Regions from separate parts of the Homo sapiens genome. Here region 2 is linked to region 1. The links are contacts of gene promoters, found by promoter capture Hi-C in blood cells and fetal thymus (Javierre and others, 2016). All regions are on one chromosome and are shown on one strand. The core of a region is centred on a gene start or on the middle of the fragment in contact, and the rest is flanking DNA. Distances in the headings are between cores, read along the strand shown. Region 1 holds the start of LMAN2L (lectin, mannose binding 2 like). Region 2 overlaps STARD7 (StAR related lipid transfer domain containing 7).

What was found. The method cuts DNA at HindIII sites, captures the fragments that hold promoters and counts their contacts. A CHiCAGO score of 5 or more calls a contact.
Region 2: a fragment that was not itself captured here is called in contact with the fragment with the promoter of LMAN2L in region 1 in 1 of 17 cell types (total CD4 T cells); the score reaches 6.2 in total CD4 T cells.

Annotation. Positions count from the first base shown.
Region 1 is chr2:96,735,312-96,741,828 of GRCh38, reverse strand. It overlaps LMAN2L (lectin, mannose binding 2 like), which reads left to right and starts at 1,765. Exons shown (of 8, transcript NM_030805.4): 1 at 1,765-1,975; 2 at 3,762-3,880. The coding sequence starts at 1,789. RefSeq lists enhancers at 1,512-2,449, 2,450-3,389. The HindIII fragment of the contact is 9,784 bases long and covers 1-6,517 here.
Region 2 is chr2:96,188,503-96,195,105 of GRCh38, reverse strand. It overlaps STARD7 (StAR related lipid transfer domain containing 7), which reads left to right. Exons shown (of 8, transcript NM_020151.4): 3 at 99-148; 4 at 1,754-1,864; 5 at 1,946-2,028; 6 at 2,638-2,737. Among named protein-coding and RNA genes, the nearest start is that of STARD7-AS1, 17 kb to the left of the region's middle. The HindIII fragment of the contact is 519 bases long and covers 1,697-2,215 here.

The DNA of each region.
Region 1 (6,517 bases), core at 516-3,015:
AAAAAGAGGGAAGGGAAGCTGGAGCATAAAGATGGAGGAAAAGAGTCATGGGCAATAAGGCCAGGGCCAGATGGCAGGGGGCTTTGTGTGCCAAATTGAGGGGCTTGAATCTCCTCCCCACAGGTGATGGTGAGCCATCAAAGGCCCGGTTAATAAGAATGATGATGATGAAATAGCGCTTATGGCTTGGTGCGGTGGCTTACACCTCTAATCCCAGCACTTTGGGAGGCTGAGGAGAGAGGATCACTGAAGTCTAGAAGTATGAGACAAATCTGGGCAACTTAGTGAGACCTCCCCCACAACCCCATAGCTACAAAAAATAAAAATTAGCAAGGTGAGGTGGCACACACCTGTAGTCCCAGCTACTTGAGAGGCTGAAGTGGGAAGATCCCTTGAGTCCAGGAGGTTGAGGCTGTGGTCATGCCACTGCACTCCAGCCTGGGTGACAGAGAGAGACCCTGTCTCAAAAACAAAAACAAAAACAAAAACAAAAAAAAAAAGAAAAGAAAAAAGAAAGAAATAGTGCTTACTACACGCAAGGCACTGTTCTAAGAGGTTTACCAATATTGACTCATTTAACCCTGACACTTACCATGGTTAGATAGTTTGGATCACTTTAGTGGCTACGTGGAGACCAGTCTGGACACATGTTGTGGTGCCGGATAAAGACGAAGGGATGTGCCTGTAGTCCCAGTAACTCAGGAGGCTAAGGTGGCAGGATCACTTCAGCCAGGGAGGGAGAGGCTGGAGCTGAGATTGTGCCACTGCACTCCAGCCTGGGCAACAGAGCAAGACCTTGTCTCTCTTTTTTTTTTTTTTTTTGAGATGGAGTTTTGCTCTATGTGGCCCAGGCTGGAGTGCAATGGCTTGGTCTCGGCTCACTGCAACCTCTGCCTCCCAGGTTCAAGCGATTCTCCTGCCTCAGCCTCCCAGTAGCTGGGATTACAGGCACGTGCCACCACGCCTGGCTAATTTTTTTTTTTATTTTTAATAGAGACGGGGTTTCTCCACCTTGGTCAGGCTGGTCTCGAACTCCCAACCTCAGGTGATCCGCCTGCCTCGGCCTCCCAAAGTGCTGGGATTACAGGCGTGAGCCACCGCGCCTGGCCAAGACCTCGTCTCAAACCAAAAAGAAAAAAAAGAGGAAGGGAGGAAAGGAGGTGATGGCTTTTAGAATTAATTAATTTGTGTGCTTTCAGTTCTTTTATATCTGTAGGTTGCTTGATGGCCCAGACTATCACGGCAAAGGAGTCATTTGCATTTGAAGAGAATGTGTCTTCCGCAGTTGTTAGGTGGAGTTTCTATAAATATCATCAGGTCAAGTTAGTTGGTAGTGCTGTTCAAGTCTTTTATAAATTGATAGTTTTCCAGCTATTTTACGGATTTGTCTATTTCTCCTTTCACTGCTATATCTTCCAAATTGATTCAGAGAGCTGCAGTCAGGAGCGTACTATTGCAGAGAGGATAGAATGTTTGGGACCAGAAGAAACGTTTTATCTCTTTAAATTTACTCTCGTACGCAGAAAACAAAATACAAATAAACTACGTATCCCAGCAAGCCTAGTGGAACTCAGGGCAAATGCAAATAAGGGGGGGGGCTGGGCATTCGGCTACGCCCCTTTTCTGGGTTGGCAAGGCAACTGATACAGAAGCCAGCCAATCGGTGATATAGTCACCTGCAGGGGCGGGGGCTTGACGAAAGCCAATAGGACGCAGGGCAGATGGCTCTTCGGGCCAATGGGTTGGGCGACGGGGCGGGCTTTTGATGAAGGGTCGTTGGTGGGAAAGATGGCGGCGACTCTGGGACCCCTTGGGTCGTGGCAGCAGTGGCGGCGATGTTTGTCGGCTCGGGATGGGTCCAGGATGTTACTCCTTCTTCTTTTGTTGGGGTCTGGGCAGGGGCCACAGCAAGTCGGGGCGGGTCAAACGTTCGAGTACTTGAAACGGGAGCACTCGCTGTCGAAGCCCTACCAGGGTGAGGCGCCCAGGGTGAGGTGGTCGTGCAGTGGGGCGGGCTTCGGGACTTGATTTCAGGGGTAGAGGCGGGGGCGGCGAAGGGCTTCGTGGCCCGGAGGAAACTGCTGGCGGTGGTGGGGCCCACGGAGACTCCCTCCGCGTTTGGGAGCCACAGGTCTGAAAGGCAGGAGTTAGGTGTGCCTGCCAAGCTCTGGAAGTTTCCAGTAGGTAAAGGCAGGGCTGTCGGGTGCCACTAGTACTAGGCCTGGAGTTAGACAGGAGGAGTTTGGGAAGGGGAGAGAATTGAGAATGGTGAGGAGTGATTGAGGGCTACTAGCAATGAGCCAGTCTCCAGATGGACCTGTGGATGTGCTAGAAATAAAGCAGGAGGAAGAACTGGGGTAGAACTTGAACGAAATGAGAAGATGATAAATTTATGTTGCTGGGTAGAACCACCTTCTCTTCTCCAGCCTAGGGGCCCTGTTGGTGAAAGAGGTTAGGGTTCACAGAACTCTAAGCACAGCTTATCAGCCAGAAAATTAATGCAGTTAGCCACAAAACGATGACAAACCAGTGCAGATGGCTTAACTAACACAAGTCTTTCCCCACTAAGGCGTAGGTAGTGGGACAGAAAACAATTCAAAGTGCAAGAGTATACTCTACTACTAAGGGTAATCATTTATTCACTTACATGCCTGGAGTGCCTCTGTGCTGTCTCTTTGCTAATGCTTATGGGTTTGCAGACACAAAGTTTTCATTCTTAAAGAAGTTTATAGGTGAGGGTACAGGGAGTAGCTTCACACTTTAAGGATTGTTTAAAGAAAGAATGTGACGGCTGGGGCGGTGGCTCACGCCTGTAATCTCCGCACTTTGGGAGGCCGAGGTGGGCGGATCACGAGGTCAGGAGATTGAGACCATCCTAGCTAACACGGTGAAACCCCATCTCTGCTGAAAATACAAAAAAATTAGCCAGGTGTGGTGGCGGGCGCCTGTAGTCCCAGCTACTCAGGAGGCTGAGGCAGGAGAATGGCGTGAACCCGGGAGGCAGAGCTTACAGTGAGCCGAGGTCATGCCACTGCACTTCAGCCTGGGCAACAGAGCGAGACTCCATCTCAAAGAAAAAAAAAAAAGGAAGAATGTGACTAAGCCCCGGAGGCCTGAGGGTCAAACTCTTTTTATTTATATTTATATATTTTTAGAGACAAGGTCTTGTTCCGTTGCCTAGGCTGGAGTGCAGTGGCACAATCATGGCTCATGCAGTTTCAATCTCCTGGGCTCAAGCGATGCTCCCAACTCAGCCTCCTGAGTAGCTAGGACTATGGACAAGGACTACCACACCTGGCTAATTTTTTTTTTGGTAAAGACAGGGTCTTTCTATGTTGCCCAGGCTGGTCTCAAATTGCTGACCTCAAGATGCCCTCCCTCCACATCATCTCAAAGTGTGGGGATTACATGGGTGAGCCACTGCACCTGGCCTGTCAAACTCTTTTTGATATAACTCAGGAAAATTTTTTTCTTTTACGATGCTGAAGTTTACTCACATATAAAACGGGAAGAATGGATGTGAGCTATGGTTACTGTAACATGCATAAAGTGAGAGTTCTGATGTGCTTTGGGGTCCTTACCTGATAAAGGCCTTGTGAAAGCTGTAGAGATGGTAAGATTCATGACTGAGAGAAGATAGGAGATTGAGTGACATTAAAGGGGGAAAAAGATGATGGCTCAGCTTTCAGAGGCTCTGTGGTGGCTGCTTTCTGAATGGATTGGTGTTGAAAAGTATGAACTGATCTACTTCCTTCCTGTAGGTGTGGGCACAGGCAGTTCCTCACTGTGGAATCTGATGGGCAATGCCATGGTGATGACCCAGTATATCCGCCTTACCCCAGATATGCAAAGTAAACAGGGTGCCTTGTGGAACCGGGTGGTAAGAATCTTTCTCCCTCCTGTGTTGGTGACCCAGAAAGGCCTAAAAAGTTCAGCAGTGGCATACTGATTTAATTTTACTGTCTATCCCCCTGGTATTCTATCTTCTGTGGATATCAAGGATCTTTATTTTTGAGATTATTCTGACCTTGATAATAAATAAATCAGGTATTTAGGAAAATGCTCTCTATTTAATTATAGCAAATAATTCATTTTTTTTTCCTGAAATGTCGTTAATTCCTGATTGGCCCAATAGTACTACTTCTTAGGGTTTAATAATAACTTAACTCCTGCTTAACCACTTTGTAAGAAGATTATAAGAAGACCAGAGTGCAGTGGCACAATCATAGCTCACTGCAGCCTCAAACTCCTGGGCTTAAGGGCTCCTCCTGCCTCAGCCTCCTGAGTAGCTGAGACTACAGGCATGTGCCACTGCACCTGGCTAATTTTTAAAACGTTTTTTGTAGAGATGGGGTCTTGCTATGTTGCCCAGGCTGGTCTCAAACTCTTGGTCTCAAACAATCCTCCTGCCTTGGCCTCCCAAAGGTCAGGGATTATAGGTGTGAGCCACCGGTCCTGGTTGAGAGTACTCTTAAATTGATCCCAAACCTTATCCCAGCATCCCCATCTTGTTATTTCAATTTGAAGAGTCTGATATAAAATTTTATTTTCATGTGAAAGCCACTCTGAGCTGTTGGTCATTTTATTTGTCCTTCTCTGGACCTTTTCTAGCTGCATTGTCTTCCTTGAGGTATGGCGACAAGAAGTGAATGCAGTATTCCTGGTGTGGCTGCACTGTGATTTTGTACAAGTGTAAGATGATGCTTTCTTTTCTGTTTCCAGGGCTTTCTAAATCTTTTACGACCAGTTTACTTTTGGGCATGACTCTGGCATCCTTTGATACTTTCTCTGGAATTCTCTTAAACTAAGAACTTACTTTTTTACGTGGCTTTTCTCATTAGTTGTAGATAAGCGAATCTCAGAAAAGAGAACGATTTCTTTTCCCTGTTCAGGAGGGCAAGAGAAATTTCTACATTAGCTATCTGCACAAACTGGCCCCTTAACCTAGATCATAGTGCCGAGCTCATTTTTGGACAGAGTACAGAGCATTGTGTTTTCGTAGCAGAGATAAAGGACAGTTGAAAGACTGGGATTCTCGGTCCAGCTCTGTCACAGTCCTCCTGTGAGCCCTAGGCAGATTATTTAACTTCTTAGTTCTGTTTCTCTATCTGATAAATGAGCTTCAGAATACCTGTTTTACTTGCCCACTGGGGTTGTCGTGAGAATAAAATAGGACAATAGACATGAAAAGACTGTGGCAAGTTAAAATGGTTATAGAAATATGTGTTATGTTATTACACTTCTACAGGTTTGTTGATGGGGCTCTTGTGGGTTACCGGATGATTATGTTCAAGGCTTGATACTCTGCTGCTGTCTTGCTGGCTGTCTGTCTCTACATAACTTGTAGCAGCAGTTCTAGTATAGCCTCTAGTTCTTCCCTTTTTCGACTTCTGATACCTGTATTCGCTGTTATCTGGCTATCACCATGACTATGGGCTTGTTTCTGAGTTATTTGAATAGGATGCATTTGTTTCAGCAGTGGTTCTCAAATTTGGCTATCCATTGGAATCAATGCCTGGGTCTCATCCCCAGAGATTCTGATCTAATTGGAATAGGGTGCAGCTTGGCCATTGGGATTTTTTAAAACTCCGTAGGTGAATCCAGTGTGTGGCAGAATTTCAGAACCACAATTAGACATGGTCCTGAGCAAAACAGTATAGCATTGTGCTGTAGGAGGCCAGGAATCAGTGACAGACACCTCTTGGCTCACTGGGAACTTCTGTGACTCTGCCCTCTTCCCAGGGGCATAATACCTACCTCCTGGCAGCTTCCTGCCCCACTGAATTTCACTCTTTCTCTGAAAGCTATTTTTTTGAAACAGGGTCTCATCACTCTGTCGCCTAGGCTGGAGTGCAGTGGCACTATCACAGCTCACTGCAGCCTGGACCTCCTGGGCTCAAATGATCCTCCACCAAAGCCTCTCAAAATGCTTTGATTACTGGCGTGAACTACTGTGCCTGGCCTTTCTCTGAAATCTTTTTTTTTTTTTTTGAGATGGAGTCTCGCTCTGTCGCCCAGGCTGGAGTGTAGTGGCATGATCTCAGCTCACTGCAAGCTCTGCCTCCTGGGTTCACGCCATTCTCCTGCCTCAGCCTCCTGAGTAGCTAGGACTCCAGGCGCCCACCACCACACCGGCTAATTTTTTGTATTTTTTAGTAGAGACGGGGTTTCACCGTGTTAGCCAGGATGGTCTCGATCTCCTGACCTTGTGATCTGCCCACCTCAGCCTCCCAAAGTGCTGGGATTACAGGCGTGAGCCACCGCGCTGGGCCGTTTCTCTGAAATCGTAATGAAACAGCAGAGAGATAAGAATCCAGAGTGACAAGACAGAGACTGGCTCAATAGAGTAGGAGATTTCAGGCCCCTTGCTCAATGCAGGAGTACCCAATCCCCTTTCATTTTGACTGTGTACTTCTAATATGAACACTGTTGGAAAATATCCCAGAAATAAAGAATGAAAACTGAAAATGATCTAGCAATAGTTGCCCAGAACAGTCTATTTGGAGAGCCTTTGGCT
Region 2 (6,603 bases), core at 707-3,206, 550 kb after region 1:
TCTCTTAGTACTTTAGATCTGAAACGCCGCTAGGTGAAAGAAACAAGGCGAGTGACTGGAGTATGGCCAGCATCCCTTATTCTTTCTTTTCATTCTAGTTTTTGGAACCTACACAGATGTGACACCTCGGCAGTTCTTCAATGTTCAGGTGAGTTAATTTTTCTCTCCAGATTTGGAGCCTCCTAGCATATCAATTGCTACTGTCTACATGAATCATTTATCTGACTCAGGTGACATTGGCTTAAGTACATCCATCTATCTACCTGTCATCCACATTGCATAGCATTTAGGTAAACATTTGACTTAGAATTTCTTTATCTGTCCCATGGGGATGAGATCAGTTTTACCCTCCCACAGGACTGTTGGGAATATCAGATAGAGGAATGGATATGAATACTTTAATGTATTTTATGAGGCTTTATTGTTTTTTTCCCCAAACAACTTAAGAGTAAGTTACATACATCATAGTCCTTTACTCCTAAATTCTTCCAGTGTGTATTTCCTAAAACTAGCCATATGCCGTATTTCTTAACTAATCATGATACCATTATTGAAATTAGTAAATTTAACACTGATGGAACACTTTCATGTAGTCCTCTGTTTGTATTTATCAGTTTTATCAGTTGACTCAATGTCCTTTATAGCATTTTCCACTTCAGTACAGATAGGATTATATTTAGTTGTCACATCTGTTTAACCTCAAATCAAGAACATTTCCATAGTGGAGGGTTTTTTTTTTTCTTTCCTCTCCCTGAGACAGGGTCCTGCTGTGTTACCCAGGCTGGAGTACAGTGGTGTGATCATGTCTTGCTGCAGCCTTTGTTTCCTGGACTCAAGTGATCCTCCCACCTCAGCTTCCAGGCCTACAGGCATGCGCCACCACACTTGGCTAATTAAAATTTTTTTTTCTTAGAGACAGGGTCTCCCTATGTCTCCTAGGCTGGTCTTGAACTCCCTGGGCTCTAGTGATCCTCCTGCCTTTGCCTCCCAAAGTGCCGGGATTACAGGTGTGAGTCACTGTGTTGGCCCAATGTTTATTTCATAAAGATGAAGAGTATCTGTTCAAAGACTGCTTTCCTCCTTGTAGGGGAAGATGGTTTAAAAAATGAAACAGGGAGGTGGGATCGCCCAGAGTTCTAGAACAAAATTTTTTTCTTTCTGGATTTTTCATTTGTTTTGCTGACTTCCGATAACTACTTCGTTGGTTATAACACTCACTCTAACGTGCAAGTGCACTTTCCCTGAGGTACTGGATCTTGTTAATTTGTAGTGAATTTTTGTTGGTTTTATGTATATGGTATATCTGTCTTAAGTTGAAAATCTTCAGTTACTAGTGATGCCAGAAATTTAAAAAAATATGCTGCTTGCATTTTTGTGTGTGAAGTGTCTACTTAATACTTTTGGACTTTTTGTTGTTTAAAACTTTTTAGAATTGTCTTACCCTTACACATTCATATCACTATATATTATTTTCCCCAGATGTGTCTATTAAAATATTTTGTTACACTTTTCCTTGGTTTGTCTAATGAAGATTCACATTCAGTGTAATGACATTAGCCTGTATAAGGTGATTTTGAAAGAAACATCTGTAGTAAACACAGCCATGTCTCTCACACTCTGGCACTGTCTGTTAGGTCAGATTACTCTCTCCTTGTAATAAGATTCTTGGATCAGAGACCAAAGCATCTGGAAAGCTTTCTGCATTTTTGTTTTGGGTCTTCTTGGGTATTCATGGTCTTTTCTCTTTCTGCAGCTGGACACAGAGTATAGAAAAAAATGGGATGCCCTGGTAATCAAGCTGGAGGTGATTGAGAGGGATGTGGTTAGTGGTTCCGAGGTTCTTCACTGGGTAACCCATTTTCCTGTGAGTATTTTTACTTCTGATTTTATTTCTGTCCAGGTTTGTGTGATGCAGAACACTAATCCTGCTCCTCCATTTCTTTAGTATCCAATGTACTCACGGGATTATGTTTATGTTCGGCGGTATAGTGTGGATCAGGAAAACAACATGATGGTGTTGGTGTCGCGGTATGTATGGCTGCCTGTGGCTGTTGCCGAGTTCCTTTAGCTGTGGCCTTCATTCCTACGTACCTGAGTTTGTATATTCTTAGTGTCCTATGAGTCTCCCACAGGCTTCCCTGCAGCCAGTGCCCCTTCCATCCAGCTAGAAGATGAGGGACTCTGACTGTCTAGAAAGAATGGAGAGATACAAGCTTTTAGTTAAACTGTTTTTTTGGGTTCTTTAATGTTGGTAATCAAAAGAAGTGCTGTTGTTTTTGACCCACAGCCTAGTGAGCCGTAAATTACCAAAGGAACTCACTTCATTTTTAATTAATTCATTTGTTTGTTGTAGACGCAGGGTTTCACAGTGTGGTCCAGGCTGGTCTTGGACTCCTGGCCTCAAGTGATCTTCCTTCCTTGGCTTCCCAGTGTTGGGATTACAGGCATGAGCCACCACGTCTGGCCTTCGCTTCATTTTTAGAACTTAGTTTGTATTTATTCATCTTAGTGACTCCTTTGTTTTGTGTATTTAAAAATATCAGAGCCAGCTTTTTAGGCCTTCCCCTTAACTTAGCTCTCCTGTTGTTTTATATATAGACATTACTAAGAGTTTGCTTCTCCTTTCCTCCTTACCAGTGCTGTGGAGCATCCGAGTGTGCCAGAGTCTCCAGAATTCGTCAGGGTCAGATCATATGAATCCCAAATGGTTATCCGTCCCCACAAGTCATTTGATGAGGTGAGTTTTACCTCATCCAAGAGATAACATGTCATGGCTGTGGAATTTTCTCAAGGGATGTCTTACCTGAACTAGGGAGGAGGGGGTGTGGCGCAGGAACAGTTCTCGCTCGGGGGAGTCTGATGCTACTGGTCTGGGAACCATTTTTTGGGAACTCCTGACGTAGGTGATGTACCTGGAAGTTCCCCAAGGACAAAGTAGTGGCAATCCATTGGTTCCCTCTTATCTGAGAGATAGTTAAAAGAATCATAGCCACTGACGCATTAGCCTGTATCAGTAGCATTCTTCAGGAACTAGAGCGAGTACCTCCTGTCAACATTTTACTACAGTGGGCAGAGCACTGGATGGAAACTTTTCTGGATTTCTGCTTCCTTGCCAGAGTAATGGGAAGATTGGACTCATGCTGTCTGCCTTCTTTAAAATTCTGTGACCTTTCTTTGAAAAGAATATTTATTTCAGCCTAATGAGGTGTTTTGTGTTTATTTTTTATCTTTTTAAGCTAAATCTCCACTGAGAGTATAGATATTGATGCTAGTGGCTGCTGGTTTTAGTTCCACTTCACCTTATAATGGCTTTGTTTCTCCCTATTGCTTGTGTTCGATTTAGGGCTATATGGACAGTGTTCTTTAGTGTAGTTTTCTTATTCTCATCAAGTTGTTTTATTTATACCACCTCAAGGACTTGAGTTGGTCCTTGTAAAAAAAAACAAAAAAAAAAGTACACTGGATAGAGAGGAAAGCAGGCAGGGCACTAGGGTTAGAAGACATGATTCAAGCAAAGACAAAGATAGGAATGAGCCAGGTATGCACTGAGAGACTCACATGCTTAGAGAGGAAAGTAGAGGTTAGGGAGAAGTGATAAATTGCATTGACTGTGTACAGAGGGTACTCGAAAACCATGTAGCTGAGTTTGGATTTGCCAAATGGGAATTAGATCTTTGAGCCAAGGTAGGGGGTTTTTATCATGGAAAATTTGAAATAGATACAAAAGATACAGAAGTAGAAGAGTATAATGAACCCCCTGTATCCATCCCCAGCTCCAGTTATCAACTTATGGCCAAAATTGTTTTATCTATACCCTTTCCCATTTCCTTTCTCACTCCCCTGATTATTTTGAAGCAAATTCTAGCTTTACTGTAGGAGAACCCAGTTCTTCTATTATATATTTCAGTATTTATCTCAAATAAGGATTTTGGGTTTTTTTGGAAACAGGGTCTCCCACTGTTACCCAGGCTAGTGTGCAGTGGTACAATCACAACTCACTGCAGCCTTGACTTCCTGGGCTCAGGTGATCCTCCTGCCTCAGCCTCCTGAGGAGCTGGGATTATAGGCGTGTGCCAACATGTCAGGCTAATTTTTTGTATTTTTTGTAGAGATGGGGTCTCACCATGCTGCGCAGGCTGGTCTCAAACTCCTGGACTCAAGCAATCCTCCCACCTCAGCCTCCCAAAATGCTGGGATTAGAGGCGTGAGCCACTGTGCCCAGCCCAAGTAAGAAATTTGTAAAACAGCTCTGGGCCAGGCAGCATGGAGAGACCCGGTCTCTACAAAAAATAAAAATTAGCCAGGCATGGTGATATGTGCCTGTAGTCCCAGCTGCTTGGGAAGCTGAGGTTGGGAGAATCACTTGAGTCCAGGAGGTCAAGGCTGCATTAAGCCGTGTTTGTGCCACTGCATGCCAGCCTGGGCAACAGTTTGAGACCCTTCTCAAAAAAAAAATAAAAAATAAAAAAGCCAGGCGCAGTGGCTCACGCCTGTAATCCCAGCACTTTGGGAGGCCGAGGCATGTAGATAACTTGAGGTCAGGATTTTGAGACCAGCCTGGCCAACATGGTGAAACCCTGTCTCTACTAAAAGTACAAAAATTATCCAGGCATTGTGGCACGTGTCTGTAATCCCAGCCACTTGGGAGGCTGAGGCAGGAGAGAATGGCTTGAACCTGGGAGGCAGAGGTTGCAGTGAGCCAAGATCGTGCCGCTGCACCCCAGCGTGGGCGACACAGTGAGACTCGTCTCAAAAAAAAAAAAAAAAAAAGACACAGACTTAAATGTACTTAGTTTTTAAATATATTATCCTTATTGATGCTCAAATTGATTCCAGTTTTGGTCATTGGGAGTCTTCTTGTTGGCTCAAGCCCCTTTGACATGACCCCAGAAGCTGTCTTGCTTTCTGGTGTTACAAGATGTTGTAGGTTCATCTTGTATATTTTTAGTTTTACACCTGGAAATTAACATTTCTTTAGGGAGTCCTGGTTCCTTTTAGTGGAAAATGGCATTTAAATACCACAATTTGGCTGCTAAGAATATTCATAGCTATTGGGTCGTTTATTGTTTGTAGGCCTTTTCAGAAGACAGAACCAAGTAATACATTTTACTGGTATGTTTATTTTTAAGATAAAATAAATCCTAAGTATATACTAATACTTTTAATTCAAATTCAGGACTATGGAGTTTTTATTTCTATCTTCTATCTTTTGTCTTTCCCTGTACTGTAGAACTCAATTCCCAGGAACCCTAACACAACTACTAATTTGTTGAAATACACAGCCTCAGAATAACAATACAGTAAGATCACCAATAATACGAAGAATAAAATTTTGTGGTCTTTTTGTCTTCAGGATGTGCATACTGTGTACAAAATATTGATTTTTTTTTTTTTTTTTTGGAGACGGAGTCTCGTTCTGTTGTGCAGGCTGGAGTGCAGTGGTGCGATCTTGGCTCACTTGCAACCTCCACCTGCCAGGTTCAAGCAATTCTCCTGCTTCAGCCTCCCAAGTAGCTGGGATTACAGATGTGCACCACCACGCCTAGCTAATTTTTGTATTTTTATTAGAGACAGGGCTTCACCATGTTGGCCAGGCTGGTCTCGAACTCCTGACTTCAAGTGATCCGCCCGCCTCGGCCTTTCTGAGTGCTGGGATTACAGGCATGAGCCACCGTGCCCAGCCCCCAGCTAAGATTTATGACAGTGTCAGAGTAAAGATATGCAGCTGGATCATAAGAGAAAAAGGCACAGGAGGAGTCTGGAGGAGTCCATGTGAAGCTTCCTTCCCCAGCAATGAAATGTAGCAATATGTGTGCAATGTTTCTGTTTAGGAAGGCCATTAGAAATTTAACACTCTGGCTGAGCACGGTAGCTCATGCCTGTAATCGCAGCACTTTGGGAGGCTGAGGCAGGAGGATCTCTTTAGCCAAGGAGTTTGAGATCAGCCTGGGCAACACAGGGAAGACCCAGTCTCTGCAAAAAATAAAAAATTAGTTGTGGTGGTAGTGCATGCCTGTAGTCCCTGCTACACAGGAGGTTGAGGTGGGATGACTGCTTGAGCCCAGGAGGTGGAGGCTGTACTGAGTCGAGATTGCATCACTGCACTCCAGACTGTGCAACAGAGTGAGACCTTGTCTCAAAAAAAAGAAAAAAAAAACACCCAAAGTGTTTTTTTTGTTTTTTTGTTTTTGTTTGTTTTGTTTTGTTTTTCTGAGATGAGTTTCGCTCTTGTTGCCCAGGCTGGAGTGCGATGGCGTGATCTTGGCTCACTGCAACCTCCGCCTCCCGGGTTCAAGCAGTTCTCTTGCCTCAGCCTCCCGAGTAGCTGGGATTACTGGTGTGTGCCACCACACCTGGCTAGTTTTTTTTTTTCTTTGTATTTTCAGTAGAGACAGGGTTTTGCCATGTTGGCCAGGGTGGTCTCAAACTCCTGACCTCAGGTGATCCATCTGCCTCAGCCTCCCAAAGTGCTGAGATTACAGACGTGAGCCACCACACCCAGCCCAAAGTGTTTTTTAAAGACGGAGTCTTGGCTGGGTGCAGTGGCACACGCTTGTAATCCCAGCACTTTGGGAGGCCAAGGTGGGTGGATCACTTGAGGTC